2 separate regions of the Homo sapiens genome follow, and region 2 is linked to region 1. The links are contacts of gene promoters, found by promoter capture Hi-C in blood cells and fetal thymus (Javierre and others, 2016). All regions are on one chromosome and are shown on one strand. The core of a region is centred on a gene start or on the middle of the fragment in contact, and the rest is flanking DNA. Distances in the headings are between cores, read along the strand shown.

Region 1 (2,711 bases), core at 26-2,525:
TGATAGAACAATTTATATTCCTTTGGATATATACCCAGTAATGCGATTTCTGCATCAAATGATAGTTCTGTTTTCAGCTCTTTGAGGAATCACCACACTCCCACAGTGGTCAAACCAATTTACACCCCCACCAAGAGCGTATAAGCATTCCTTTTTCTCTGCAACCTCACCAGAACCGGGCTCTTAGCTATCAAGCCTCTTGCTCTCCCCTTCCAGCAGCTGCTAATTATAATAGCTGCATTTTCTAATGTTTGCTGAGCTCAAACGCTGCTGGGCCCTAGGCTAATCACTTGCAGGAATTAGTGCCAGGACGTGGGGCTGGTGACAGTCCCTTCCTCAGAGGATGGTCAGGCGGTATAAGGATCTAACACAAGCAAGACCTGGCACTGTAATCATGGCAGACCACAGGCCATTCTTGTTGTTTCCAGCCACTTTTATGTCTTAGAACTGTTCTAGATTTACAGAACTGAGAAGATAGTACAGACAGTTCCCATACACCGCAGGCCCAGTTTACCCCATAACTGATCTTACTTGAGTATGATACATTTATTACAATTAATGAACAAACAAATGTGGACACATTATTATTAACTAAAATCCACTTTCTTCACTTTTACTGCCTTTTTCTGTTCCACGATCCCATCCAGATGCCACATTACATTTAGTTGTCCTTGTTATTTTTTATTAGTCATAGTCATCATCATACTGACCGGCTGAATCCTCAGGAGAGCCCTTGGAGGTGCTACTGGTCTGTTTACTCACCTGCAGTCCCCATTCCGCTGCCAGCTCTGAGGGCTGTGTCTTCCTGGTCTTGCTCTAATGCCCCTAAAGCCCTGCCTGAGGAGCTGTGACTGTACTAACCAGGCCGGCAGCTCCCAGTGGTCCTGAGGCCTCAAGGCAGGAAGGAGGACCTGGAGAGCCTGTTGGGGCAGGAAGGGAATGCAGAAAGGCTGGGGTGAGAGGGAGACAGTGGAGGGCCTGAGGTCTGCAGTGCCACCTCCTAGCCCTGGATCCCTTCCCACAGCCCATCTGCAACCTCAGTTTTCTGGAAAGCTCCCTCCTCCCTTCCAAAGCCACAGCTGTGAGACAGAAAGCCAGGGTGAGGGGCCACGTGCAGCTTTCTGCCTCCCGCTGCCTTTGGAACAGGAGTTTCACCACAGCCCCTGGTGGCCAGGTGGGTGCTCCTCCAGGTGGGCCCCCTTTGCCCTTACAGGCACCCACTTGCCACCTCCTCCATAAAAGGCCTGGGCCCAGCTCTGGTGGCGAGGGAGTAGGGGGTGTGTCTGTGGCGTCTCATGGCAGGAGGCTCAGCCACGACCTGGGGTTACCCTGTGGCCCTGCTACTGCTGGTTGCCACCCTGGGGCTGGGTAGGTGGCTCCAGCCCGACCCTGGCCTCCCAGGCCTCCGGCACAGCTACGACTGTGGGATCAAGGGAATGCAGCTGCTGGTGTTCCCCAGGCCAGGCCAGACTCTCCGCTTCAAGGTGGTGGGTGAGTGCTGGCAGAGTCCTGGCCCCTGCCTCCCTGGCCACGGGCTGCTGCCAGAAGGGAGCTGGGACCCTTCCCCTGAAGGAGCAAGAACAGAGGCCTCCCTCCAGCCTGGGGGTGTCCAGCCCCCCACCCCCTCACCACAGAAAAGGGCAAGGAGGAGAATCATCACCCAGGGCAGCTTCTCCCACGTTAGTGTGCATGGGAAACACCTGGCCACCTTGTTGAGGTGCAGGTTCTGATTCAGTGGACCTGGGGCAGGGCCAAGCCTCTGCATTTCTTTTCTTTTTTTTTTTTTTTTCTGAGACAGTCTCACTTCTTTCAATCTGTTCTCCAGGCTTGAGTGCAGTTGGCACGATCTCAGCTCACTGCAACCTCCACCACCCAGGTTCAAGCAATTCTCCTGCCTCAGCCTCTTAGTAGCTGGGACTACAGGTGTGTGCCACCACGCCCAGCTACTTTTTGTATTTTTAGTAGAGATGGAGTTTCACGATATTGGTCAGGCTGGTCTCGAACTCCTGACCTCAGGTGATCCACCTGCCTCAGCCTCCCAAAGTGCTGGGGTTATAGGCGTGAGCCACTGCACCCAGCCTAGGCTCTGCATCTCTAACCACGCTCAGTCAAAACTGAGGCTGAGGGTCCATAAACCACTTCCAGCAGCAGGACCTAGTAGGCGTGGCCTGGTGTGGGTTTAGAACTGGGGTTTGGATCTGCAGCTTCTAAACGGGATGATTTTGGACAACTGACCTGACTCATAAGCCTCTGTTTCCTCATCTGCAAGGTGGGGAAGATGAACCTGGCCGTGCTCATGGAACAAGGGCATGGGGACATGCCCACACCCAGGGAATGCCCAGGCTGTTCTGGGGCAACAAGCAGGGTGGACACCTAGGGGGTGTCTCCAAGCAACTGCAGCAGCCACAGTTAACCTGGGAAATGGGTTCAGATCTTTCTACAAAGCCCAGGATTCAAATCCTCATTCTGCCCCTCATTGTGTGCACCTAAGAAAGCTCACGCACCCTCCCTTCCTCAGCTGCCTCAGCCACAGGATGTGGATAACTAAGCTTAAAAGAAGTGATGTGAAATACTCAGGCCAGTGCCTGAGACCCTGTGTATCCCTTCTCCACCTCATCTTCGTGCCTGCCTGCTGCCGTGTGCTGTGAGCAGGGAACCCTAGCTAGAAAGATCCTAAGACCCTCCCATCCCCTTACAGCTGTGGAAACTGA
Region 2 (2,700 bases), core at 36-2,535, 320 kb after region 1:
GATCTTGGCTCACTGCAAGCTCCGCCTCCCGGGTTCACGCCATTCTCCTGCCTCAGCCTCCCGAGTAGCTGGGACTACAGGCGGCCACCACCACGCCCGGCTAATTTTTTATATTTTTTAGTAGAGACAGGGTTTCACCGTGTTAGCCAGGATGGTCTCCATCTCCTGACCTCGTGATTCGCCCGCCTCAGCCTCCCGAAGTGCTGGGATTACAGGCGTGAGCCACTGCGCCCAGCCGAGCTATTTCTATTTTAAACACCAGACAAAGACCAAAAGGTTAACAGTTAGCCAAAGGATTTAACACTCATTCTATCCAAAAGGCAACTGTATGGACAATTTTTTTCTCTCCTTATACTTTTCTGAGTTTCTTCCGTGATTGCTTTTAAGATGGTGGGAAAGCTAAGCATTATTCTATAAAAGAGAGGGAAAGACCCCCAATAGAGAGGAGGCTATATCTTTGCTGGGGTTGCCTGGGTTCCTGCTGGAGTGAATTATTCCCCAGAGAAAAAAGGCCATCAGGAAGCCTACTGTCAGTGGAGGACTGACGCCTAGTGGCCAAGGCGGATATTACATGCATACATGTGGTGGTCTTAGACCCGCCCATTGGTTCCATCTACTTAAACAGTTACTTAGCGACATGAAACCACTGTAATATGAACTCTCCTACCTTTAGACCTGCGAATCCCATTTTGAGAAATACATCTCACATAAGTAAATATATGTTTATTATTATTAGTTATAAAATATATATTAGCTACAAAGATTTTCCCAGGGACTCTATTACCAGTGAAAGATGGAAGGCACCCCAGATTCTAAGAGCAGGGAAATTATCAATAGGAAAGAATCTGCTCCTGGCTCTTTTTCTTTTGTTTATTTATTTTTTTTGAGACAGGGCCTTGCTGTGTCGCCTAGGCCGGAGTGCAGTCCGCGATCTCGGCTCACTGCAACCTCTGGCTCCCGTGTTCAGGAGATTCTTCTGCCTCAGCCTCCTAAGTAGTTGGGACTACAGGCACGCACCACCATGCCTGGCTAATTTTTGTTTTTTTGTTTTGTTTTGTTTTTTTGAGACGGAGTCTTGCACTGTCGCCTGGGCTGGAGTGCAGTGGCGTGATCTCCATCTCAGCTCATTGCAACCTCTGCCTCCCAGGTTTAAGCGACTCTCCTGCCTCAGCCTCCCAAGTAGCTGGGATTACAGGCACCCACCACCATGCCCAGCTAATTTTTTGTATTTTTAATAGAGATGGGGTTTCACTATGTTGGCCAGGTTGGTCTCAAACTCCTGACCTCGTGATAAGCCTGCCTTGGCCTCCCAAAGTGCTGGGATTACAGGTGTGAGCCACCATTCCCGGCCTGCTCCTTGCTCTTAAAGTGATGAGCGTGGACTACATCTGCCCATCTGTCTAAAGAAAAGCACAGACCATTTTTACAAATACACAATTTTGATATATTGCAAAAATGTTTGTGCAGAACAGAATGCAATGAAAAATTAGCTGCCTGAGTTTTTATTACAAAGGTTATATGAACTATAGAATACAGTTTTACAATAAATATATTTCCTAAAGAAAGTCTACAATTAATATTATCTTCTAAATAAATATTATGACTTTTAAATGTTTCCAATGGTTAGACACATATATTTGGCTATTTAAAAATATTTCCCAGGTAGACAATGTTTTACTTTAAGGCCTGTTCATTTACTTTTTAAAGTTTTTAAATTTGTTTCTTGTTGAGACAGGGTCTCACTTGTTGCCCAGGCTGCAGTGCAGTTGCACGGTTCACTGCAGCCACAACCTCCTGGACTCAAGCCACCCTTCCACCTCAGCCTCCCAAGAACCTGGAACTACAGGCACACACCACCATGCCCCATTAATTTTTAAATTTTTTGTAGAGATGGGGGTCTCGCTATGTGTCCCAAGTTGGTCTAGAACTCCTGGGCTTAAGCAATCCTCCCACCTTGGCCTCTCAAAGTGCTGGGATTACAGGAGTGAGCCACTGCACCCAGCAAGATCTAATAATAAGAACGTAGCCGGGCACAGTGGCTCACGCCTGTAATCCCAGCACTTTGGGATGCCAAGGCAGGTGGATTGCCTGAGGTTAGGAGTTCGAGACCAGCCTGGCCAACATGGCAAAACCCCGTCTCTACTAATAATACAAAAATTAGCTGGGTATGGTGGCGGAAGCCTGTAATCCCAGCTACTCCAGAGGCTGAGGCAGGAGAATTGCTTGAACCCGGGAGGTGGGGGTTGCAGTGAGCTGAGATCGCACCATTGTACTCCAGCCTAGGCGACAAGAGCGAAACTCTGTCTCAAAAAAAAAAAGTATGTAGATACGTAATGGATAAACAATGGAAAGGATAAAATGCAAACCAAAAAAATAAAGTTGACTTGCCTATAAAAAGAAAGAAAAGAAAAGCACAGCTCAAATCATGAGTAACAAGCACTCTCCCTCCCTCACCTCCTTCCAGTCTCCACTCACACGCCCCCTCCAGGGTGGGGCCCTCTGTGGTCCCTCTGTCTAAAATGTCAACCGTCCTGACACTCCCCATCTTCTTCCTTACTGTAGTTTCTTTCTGGCTTCACAGAATCACACGCTATAATTTGCTTATTTATCTTGTTGGTTATCTGTCTCCTTCCCTGGTGTGTAAACTCATGAGGGCAAAGATTTGGGTCTGTCCTGTTTCTTGATGAATCCTCTGTGCCT

Evidence for each region. Contacts are between HindIII fragments. The CHiCAGO score rates a contact against its expected background, and 5 or more counts as called.
Region 2: a contact is called between a fragment that was not itself captured here and the fragment with the promoter of ZP1 in region 1, in 7 of 17 cell types (total CD8 T cells, total CD4 T cells, non-activated CD4 T cells and 4 more). The highest score is 8.7, in total CD8 T cells.

What each region holds. Positions count from the first base shown.
Region 1 is chr11:60,866,267-60,868,977 of GRCh38, forward strand. It overlaps ZP1 (zona pellucida glycoprotein 1), which reads left to right and starts at 1,276. Exons shown (of 12, transcript NM_207341.4): 1 at 1,276-1,491. The coding sequence starts at 1,296. The HindIII fragment of the contact is 3,593 bases long and covers 1-2,547 here.
Region 2 is chr11:61,187,181-61,189,880 of GRCh38, forward strand. All of the region lies in intron 2 of LOC124902678 (a long non-coding RNA gene), which reads left to right. Among named protein-coding and RNA genes, the nearest start is that of PGA3, 15 kb to the right of the region's middle. The HindIII fragment of the contact is 6,697 bases long and covers 1-2,700 here.